Regions from separate parts of the Homo sapiens genome. Here regions 2 and 3 are each linked to region 1. Evidence: promoter capture Hi-C in 16 types of primary human blood cells and fetal thymus (Javierre and others, 2016). All regions are on one chromosome and are shown on one strand. The core of a region is centred on a gene start or on the middle of the fragment in contact, and the rest is flanking DNA. Distances in the headings are between cores, read along the strand shown.

Region 1 (3,292 bases), core at 396-2,895:
ACTGACATTGTAAACCTTTAGGATTTGAAAGACGCTAAAGTTTAAAGTCGAATCATAAATACTGTTCCAATCCAATCACTCAGGCCCAGAGCTGGTGGGAGTTCTGGATTGCATTTCCGGCTTCACCAGTATCTCTGTAACTTAGCAGCAAGCTACACCTCCACCAGCCTCGGCTTCCTCTTAGGAGAAATGAGAAAACTGGACCCAATCAGTGTTTCCCAAAAGCATGGTGGGCGTCCAATGCAAGATGTCACAGTGCAAGAGAGGACTCTGTGTGCATGCCAATTAACATGTTTTAGTTATTAGTTTACTCTGTCTGGTGAGTAATGTTAGTTTTCCTAATAAATAAGATTTCCTTTTAAAATAAATGCATCCAAATATTTTTAAAAATGAGTCACTTTCACAAAAACCTATTTAGTAAATAAGAGTTCAGGTGATTCTAGCAGCCGTGGCAAAAATAACTGATCTAGAGGCCTGGCGTGGCGTGAAATCCCTGAGTACAGGGGGAGGAAGAGAGCGAAGGCGGCTGGAGTTCCTCGCAAAGAAGCAAGCCCCGGGCACCAGGGTCCGCAGTGACCAGCCGCCGGTCCTCCACGCTTCCAGAGGAGACGATTTGGAACTGACCCGGGAGGGCCAAGAAACACCTTCCGAGTACCAGGCTAAACCCCGCCAGGGAGAGAGACCGGGACGAAGGTCCCAGGCTAGTGCGACACCGCAGGTCGGGGTTCCCTGGTTGGAGGAGCGCGGTGGGCTGGGAGGGGCGCGTTGGTGCGCACTGGAACAGGGGTCCCCGGCTTGAGCAGCGCGGTGAGACAGAGTTCCCGCGCTGGAGGGGCGCGGTGAGACAGAGGTCCTGGGCTGGAGAGGTGCGTTGGGGCGCACTGGAACCGGGGTCCCGGGCTTGAGTGGCGCGGTGGGACAGAGTTCCCGGGCTGGAGGGGCGCAGTGGGACAGAAGATCCGGGCTAGAGGGGCGCGGTGGGACGGAGCTCCCGGGATGGACGGGCGCAGTGGGACAAGGGTCCCGGACTGGAGGGGCGCGTTGGGGAGCATTGGAACAGGGGTCCTGAGCAGGAGGGGCGAGGTGGGCTGGGAGGGGCGCGGTAGGGCGCACTGGAACAGGGGTCCTGGGCTGGAAAGACACGTTGGAACAAGGGTCCCGGGCTTGGGCGGCGCGGTGAGACGGAGTTCCCGGGCTGGAGGGGCGCGGTGGGACAGGGGATCCGGGCTGGAGGGGCGCGGCGAGACCGGGGTCCCAGGCTGGAAAGGTGCAAGTCGAGGCTGGAGGACCGGCGGGAGGGAACCGGGAACCCGGCGGAGCTAAGGGGCGCAGAGTGGGGGTGGGGCCGTGCTGCCGGGGGAGCCCCCTCACGCAGGAAGGACCGGGGCCGCGGACCCCACCGCCCCCACACCCCGTCGTCGCGGAGTTCGGGCCGCCCCGGCTGCGCCCGGGCCCTACCTGTCCTCGCTGGCCGTGATCACGCCGTCCTCCTTGGGGATGAGCAGCGCGGCCGTGACGGCGTCCTGGTGCCCCTCGATCTTGCTCAGCAGCACCGGGCGGCTGCTCTGCGGCCTGGAGTGGATTTCGGCCGCCATGTTCGCGCGGCGACTGCTGCGGCCTCCTCGGCAGGCAGCCCATCAGCTGACGCCTGGGCGGGCGGGGGACGCGCCGGTTTCCCTTCGGCTGCTGGGGCCTCTTGGGCGCCGCGCCGCCGTAAGCCCCCGAGTGCTGCCGCCGCACCGCCCGTATTGCCTGGGGATGCCGCGCAAGCTGAAAGTCTGTGGCTGGGAGAGGATGCCACGGGGCGCCTGCGGAGAAATGGGGAAAGTAAGGAAGGTTTAAAAGTAAAGCCATTCACCCAGGAATAAATTGAGCACCTGGAGGGGACAAGGAATTGTCCCCCAAACCAGAGATTTCAGAAATTACAATACTACATTTCATCCATTTGAAGAAGCCATTGTTTGAAAGGCACACACTTTCAGAAATGTTAAAATGTGAAAAAATATAGTGCATCTTAGAATCTTTGAACTACAATAGATAGCACTGAGTGGTGACCATATACCAGGCATTAACTCAGTGTCTTTGCATCTCATTTAATACTGATAATTTTAAGAGATGAAATAGATGCTCTTGTATTCCCATTTTAGAGATGAGAAAACAACCAGAGAAGTTTGATCACTACCTTAAGGTTGCACAGCTATGAGAGGGAGAAAAGCAGCCCTTGATCTCCAGGAGCTGCCTGGTACTATCAGCTGAGCTTTGGTGTTGCTAGGAAGTGTTTGCTTCCTGTGGAACATAAACATCAGACGAGGCCACTCCATAATCACATCTAAACACGGCCAAAATATGAGCGATGTACAAGCCACAGAAATTACCAAACATCCCCCTATCCTGGCTAATATGAGTGACTCTTATTTCTTTATTAATTATAATGTTAACCGCTATCTAGTCTTCCTCCATTTAGATAAGATTTATTAAGATATGCAACCTTAGAATTATACGCATTTCCTGACAACATCCAGTCCACAGGAGAGCCTCTCTTCCTTAAGCTCTCCCAGGTCACCTAACACAAACACAAATCCTATAATAAAACTGTCCGAACATCCCTTTACCCAGACACCTCACCATTCCCAATGGTGTGTCTTCTCCCTCCAACAAGCAATCAACCCCATTTGTTCCTGGTGGTTTTTGGCTAGAGGTCATTGACAACCAGTAAGTTCAAGAGCCAAAATTTGGACTCAGGAAGTCAATGACTCCAAACTTCTGCCCCACTATATTATTCTGACACCTGAATTGCAGAATTGCATTAGAACCGTACTATCCACATGACTATAGAGCACTTGAAATGTGGCTTGTCCAAACTGAGATGTAGTACAAGTGCAAAATACTACAAGATTTTATAGACTTAGCACAAAACAAAAAAGATGTAATATAGTTCATCAATAATTGTTACAATGATTACATGTTGAAATGATACTATTTTGGATATATTGAGTTAGATACTATTAAAATTAATATGACCTGCTTATTTTTTTAAGGTAGCTAATAAAAACTTTAAATTATGGATGTGAATCAGATGGTACTTCTATGTACAGTGATTTACTAGAACTTTCTTTTTGTTTTTGTTTTGTTTTGTTTTAGTTTTTTGAGACGAACTCACTCCGTCACCCAGGCTGGAGTGCAGTGGTGCGATCTCGGTTTACGGCAACCTCCGCCTCCCAGGTTAAAGGGATTCACCTGTCTCAGCTTCCCGAGTAGCTGGGATTACAAGCACCTACCACCATGCCTGGCT
Region 2 (3,200 bases), core at 258-2,757, 3.4 Mb after region 1:
ATGAGATGTACTACTAGAAAGTTCGTAAGACTGAAATGCAATGAATGGAATGCAGAGAAAGCACATTTCAAGGAGATACTGAGGTTCTAGCCACTTGGTTCTCGTTTATTATTATAAAACTTCAATTTATAATGGCCAAAGGCTATAATCTTTTTGAGGTAGCTTTTTTCAGTGTTAGTTCTGAATATGAGCTTTTGCTATGCTTGAGATACACGCAAGTATTAGAAGAGCATCTCATCTGGAATGATGCACAAAAATTGATTATAAAGGTTGCCTGTGGGAACCTGGGTGGTTAAGGATAGGATTGAAAGTGGGACACTTCCTTTTCTCTGTATAGCTTGCGTACTTTGTACCGAGTACATGCATTACTAGTTCAAAATTTTAACATCGTAAGTGAATGAAAATTTAAACAGGCCGGGCACGGTGGCTCACACCTGTAGTCCCAGCACTTTAGGAGACGAAGGCCAGAGGATTTCTTGAGCCTAGGAGTTTGAGATCAGCCTGAACAACATAATAAGACCCTGTCTCAACAAAAAATACAAAAATTAGCTGGGTGTGGTGGCATATGCCTGTAGTCCCAGCTATTCAGGAAGCTCCATTGCAATCTAGCCCGGGTGACAAAAAAAAAAAAAAAAAAAAAAAAACCAATTCATTTGTTCTTCTTTAACATATATGTGTACCTATATGCATATATATACGTAAGTATTAGATTCATTTAAACTTACGTATTTTTCATCTGCCACATTTTTCTAAATACAAATCAGAAACAATGACAGAGCTAGTCTTTTATATTGCCTTAACTAATGAATAGTTGTAGGACCCCATCTGTGGAACTAAGATTGGTGGTAAGCTTAATTTTTTTCTTTCTTTATTTTCTTACTGGTCTCTTGATGTCAGGTTGTGCATCTTTGTGACTGTTACTATTTGGAGAATTTCCAGTAATGAATCCCTAATAGTGGTTTCATCTAGTTTCTCAATTAGCCCCTGTTTTTCTTCCCCAGGGACAAAAGTGGCTCTCAATCCAGCACATGCACATTGAAGCAAGTTAAAGGATTTAATATGAAGCACAGAAGCAGATAGTGCCAAATAGCAAGCAGTAGTTGTTACACATTTGTGAGTAAAAATGGTCCCTTTTGGCTTACTTTCTTAGTCTTTAAATCGTCTGCATGCCAAATCCTTAAAGATCTATGTCCCCAGAGATTTTTTGATAAAGAATAAAAGATGTGAGTTAGCAGTCATAGTCAAACCAGTTGCTGGGGCTGAGCGTCCTGAGCAACCTCTAAGAGCTCTCCTAGGCATCTCAGTGAGGCGGGGGCTTAGGGTGGGGCTATATCTCCAGCATGGAGTTTAGGAAATACCTTAGCCATGGTAAAGTCATGTATACTGTCTTTAACTTTTTATGTCTTTAATTTATATATAGTGTCTTTGCTGAAAATTTAGTGTAATTTCCATTTGAAGTTTACCCTAAATTTTGAAGTTTATTTTTATTTAAAGAAACCATTAGACGTCAAATATGTAGGCTGCCTCAGTTACATTTACTTTTTACCCTTTGTATTCCCTTCATGATTTATTCATTTGGGCTTAGTCTTAAAAAAGGATTTTTCCCCTTTGGAGTATAATGATTAGAGGAGTTTTATGGCAGTATTGTTTTCTTCGAATCTGACTTCACATTTGTATATACATTTGATACAGCTTCTCTGTATCCTGTTTGCAAAATCATAAGACAGTGACTGTGCTTACAACTGTCTTTATGATTTTTGAGGTATAGAAAAACTCTTCTTAGGATAGATTTAACAATTGGTTTCTCAAATCAAGCCCTAAGCCATGTTCAAATCCAAAAGTCATTTTACGTAGATATTTACTTTTATTCATAGTTTTCTTATGAAATGAATTGTTGAAATACTGATTTTTATTCTTTCTTTTTTACAGCTGGAAAAGCAGTGTCCGTGTTGTTATGTACACCTCCAAAAAAAGTTCAAATGTGTAGGGGAATTGTTGTGTAAAGTAAACTGAACTGCAGGGTAGCAGTATTTTAATAGCTATTATAGACCTGTATTTACTGTATTTAAATGAGTAAAGGAACAAGCAGTGACACATCACTAGGAAGGTCAGTGAAATTTTATTCAGTTGAGCTGGTATTATAGGTTTGAGAGACAATGGCTTTAAAGCTTACTGCCGTAGGCTAACCATGCTCTTTTACATTTTTATCAGCTTTTGTATTGGCGGCAACATTCTTTCTACTGCATTAAAAAAAAAAACACATGTAAATATGATATTAAATACAGATTAATAGTGTAAAACTTTCAGTCCCTCCAAAAATGAATACAAACATGAGGATTTATTATTACAAATTCTAAATTTGGTATTCATTGCATCTCAGTCATTAGGAGAAGTTTTAGTTTGTATGATGTGATTTTCAGGGAGTTGCATCTTCTTTTTTAGTAAATTCAGAGTTAATGTTATGCATCTGTCATTTAAAGGTTTTGAATAACAGATGCATTTGTCATTTAAAGGTTTTATTTTTTCATGCATGACAGTAATTTTTAATTTTATATTTTTAAAGTCCAAGCAGCTTTCCCTCAAATTGATGAGGAAATTTTAAGTTTAAATTTTATTGCAGGCATTTTTTTAGTTACAAGCAGCATGCATGTTTACGCAGAGAGTATGTGTGTATGTGTGTGTACACATTTGTGTTGTAATTCTATAATAATTTAAAAAATTTGCTCCTAAGCAATATCCTCAAGGTACAATTTCAGCTGATAATTAAGAAGGCATTTTGTTGAGGAAGACATTTTCTTTCATCTTTTATTTTTGCTTTGTATGTGTTCAGTACTTGCAAATGAGAAGTTTCCTTTCGCTCTTTCTATAAGGTATTGTCTTCTAACTTCACTGCGTAGAGGAGACTGACATTTTAACAGTCAGCCCTGTCTTTAAATTTTTCTCCCACAGGGTGAGCAGGGCAGCATTTCCTTCTCCCACTGCTGCTGAGATGGCAGAAATTAGTCGAATTCAGTACGAAATGGAATATACTGAAGGCATTAGTCAGCGAATGAGGGTCCCAGAAAAGTTAAAAGTAGCACCGCCAAACGCTGACCTGGAACAAGGATTCCAAGAAGGAGTTCCAAATGCTAGTGTGATAATGCAAGTTCCGGAGAGGATTGTTGTAGCAGGTATTTCACCTTTACTTAGAAGGTTGCCTG
Region 3 (3,008 bases), core at 380-2,879, 3.5 Mb after region 1:
TTGTATTTTTAGTAAAGACGGGGTTTCACCATGTCAGCCAGGATGGTCTCGATCTCCTGACCTCGTGATCTGCCCGCTTCGGCCTCCCAAAGTGCTGAGATTACAGGCGTGAGCCACCGCACCCAGCCTTGTCCACTACTTTTAACTAGAATGCCTTAATTAGGTTTAAGTCATAACTTGAATATTATTTTTTAGATGCTTGCTCTAAGTGTTACAAGGACCTTATGGTGTAGTATTTGTGGCTTTCCCAGAAACTCAGAATAACAATAGGGATTTATATCATGCTTATTATTATATATAGAAAGCTAAATATATTCAGTTTTTTAATGTTGGACTCTGGATAGACGAATATTTTGGACTAGCCAACATATACGGTGTCTTGGCATCAATAGTTTGTAGATTTGATAACCTACTAAAGGCACCTTCCTTCCATCTGTTCTAGATTTTAAATGTATAATTTTATGCTATGAAACATATGTAATATTTTTAGTAAATAACTAGGATGGGCTAGATCTAAATGTCAACTTTATTACTTTCTGCCAGTATTATTGGCAACTACATAAACTTCCACAGGTTATTAAAAATATTTTTACCAGCTTCTCCCACAGCAGGAGAAAAACAATTAATAAAACTAACTAAATAAGCTTTCCTACTTACTCATCCAGCACAGATTGTTATTTGAATTGAACAAATGGTTATTTGCAAGATTGTTTGAGGCCTAGTTAAGAGCAGCACACTGATGGACATATGGAATGAGCCACACCATCTGGTTACAGTCATACCTGGGTGGTGGTCATTAAAACTAAATCTCCTGGGGATCTGCAGATGTCTTAATTATACTACAAAAATGTATTGGGCTGCACCAGTAGGCTACTTTGAACTTCTTGAAACCAGTTAACTTGCAAACATGTTTTCAAGATATCAAAACTGCAGTTATTGAGTCTTTTTTTTTTTTTTTTTTGCACAAAACTGAAGACTTAAAATGTGTATTTGAGGATCTGGAATGGGTGGTACTTCAGTATTGGCCCCATGAAAGTAATGTGGTTTACTTACCCAACACTTTCATCCAATAGTTATGACTAATATGACAGAAAAGTGTTTTATAAACCCTGAATTCACCCTGTAGCTAGAAGGGCTTTAGCAAAAAAGGGAAGTGACCTCAGGTTCACATCTTAAAAATACTTGTTTTGATTCACTGCAGGATTTTATTCACTTAAATGATCAAATTTGGTAGGTGAAGATAGTCTGCTAATGATAAATTTAATTACTCTAAAAATTGTGGTTACTATAGATACTAACACGAAATCAGGACTACAGTTTTTTTATTTCTTGACATACGTTATAATTTTTTGGTATGCAGTTCTGTGAATCTTAACATATGTATAGATTCATATAGCCACCACTCAAATTAGAACATGCAAGTTTTCCATCACCCCAAAAAACTTTTAGCCCTTGTTTTTACTGTACTCCTGGCAATTACTGATCTGTTCTCCAACACTGCAGGTTTTGTCTTTCCAAGAATGTTGTGTAAATGGACTCATAACTTTTCTAGATTGCCTTTTTTCACTCAACATATTATCTTTAAGATTAATCCAAGTTAGTTGTTGTTTATCTTAATAGTTTGTTCCTCCTTGTTGCTAAGTAGTATTCCATTGCTTGTTTGTTTTTCCATTTTCTGTTTGAGGAGTTTCTAGTTTTTGATATATATGAATGGAAATGCTGTAAATGTTTATGCTCAAGTTTTTGGGTGAACGTAAGTTTTCATTTCACTTGGGTAAATATCTAGGGCTAGGTTGTATGGCACATGCATGTTTAATTAAAAAATTGGCCAAGTTTTTTTGGTTTTGTTTTGATTTTTCCCTTTTACTTGTGGAATTCCGTTTTCTTTTTTTTATTATACTTTAAGTTTTGGGGTACATGTGCACAACGTGCAGGTTTGTTACATATATATACACATGCCATGTTGGTGTGCTGCACCCATTAACATTAGGTATATCTCCTAATGCTATCCCTCCCCCCTACCCCCACCCTCCATTTTCTTTTATGGTCACAATTGAAATTGTACTATTGATATTAACATTCCAGAGTTAATCAGTATTTTAATCTTCTGTTAATACAAGGTCTTTAAAAATACAAAGTAGTTTCATTTAAGTGGTGTTTCTTTTTTTTTGAGACGGAGTTTTACTCTGTGGCCCAGGCTGGAGTGCAGTGGCGTGATCTCGGCTCACTGCAACCTCTGCCTCCCAGGTTCAAGTGATTCTGCTGCCTCAGACTCCTGAGTAGCTGGGATTGAGGACTGCCACCACACCTGGCTAATTTTTCTATTTTTAGTAGAGATGGAGTTTTAACCATGTTGGCCAGGCTGCTCTCGAACTCCTGATCACAAGTGATCCACCCGCCTGCTGGGATTAAGATTACAGGTGTGAGCCACCGCGCCTGGCTCATTTAAGTGTTATTGTTGGTAAACATATTATTTGTCCCTTTTTTCCTTCTGTTAGTTGGATGTTACTGTAATAAGATGATATTTGTTTAGATTTGCCAGTTTACAGTTTGCTTACCCCTTAGCATCTCAAGACTTTCTTGGGTCATTTTTCTTCTTAAAGTATATACAGTATAAGCTTCTTTAATGAAGATCTCTTAGTTTTTTTTTTGTTTTTTTTTTTTTTTTTTTTTTTTTTTTTTTTTGAGATGGAGTCTCACTCTGTTACCCAGGCTGGAGTGCAGTGGTACGATCTTGGCTCACTGTAACCTCTGCCTCCTGGGTTCAAGTGATCTTCCTGCCTCAGCCTCCCCAGTAGCTGGGATTACAAGTGTGCGCCAACATGCCCGGCTAATTTTTGTATTTTTGTTGTTAGTAGAGATGGGGTTTCACCATGTTAGCCAGGCTGGTCTCGAACTCCTGAGCTCAGGTGATCTGCCCACCTTGGCCTCCTAAAGTGCTGGGATTACACACATAAGCCACCGTACCTAGCCTAGTGGGTTTTTTTGTTTTGTTTTTTATCTGAAGA

Evidence for each region. The method cuts DNA at HindIII sites, captures the fragments that hold promoters and counts their contacts. A CHiCAGO score of 5 or more calls a contact.
Region 2: a contact is called between a fragment that was not itself captured here and the fragment with the promoter of WDFY1 in region 1, in 2 of 17 cell types (total CD4 T cells and non-activated CD4 T cells). The highest score is 6.2, in total CD4 T cells.
Region 3: a fragment that was not itself captured here is called in contact with the fragment with the promoter of WDFY1 in region 1 in 1 of 17 cell types (naive CD8 T cells); the score reaches 6.8 in naive CD8 T cells.

What each region holds. Positions count from the first base shown.
Region 1 is chr2:223,943,690-223,946,981 of GRCh38, forward strand. WDFY1 (WD repeat and FYVE domain containing 1) reads right to left here and starts at 1,646. Exons shown (of 12, transcript NM_020830.5): 1 at 1,459-1,646. The coding sequence starts at 1,595. It overlaps LOC124907989 (a long non-coding RNA gene), which reads left to right. Exons shown (of 2, transcript XR_007088100.1): 1 at 1-718. RefSeq lists enhancers at 458-577, 588-647 and a silencer at 1,218-1,397. The HindIII fragment of the contact is 5,306 bases long and covers 1-3,292 here.
Region 2 is chr2:227,327,677-227,330,876 of GRCh38, forward strand. It overlaps MFF (mitochondrial fission factor), which reads left to right. Exons shown (of 9, transcript NM_001277062.2): 2 at 1,002-1,113; 3 at 2,950-3,170. The coding sequence starts at 2,990. Among named protein-coding and RNA genes, the nearest start is that of MFF, 4.0 kb to the left of the region's middle. The HindIII fragment of the contact is 1,318 bases long and covers 849-2,166 here.
Region 3 is chr2:227,482,037-227,485,044 of GRCh38, forward strand. The region is part of intron 1 of AGFG1 (ArfGAP with FG repeats 1); the gene reads left to right. Among named protein-coding and RNA genes, the nearest start is that of AGFG1, 11 kb to the left of the region's middle. The HindIII fragment of the contact is 1,974 bases long and covers 643-2,616 here.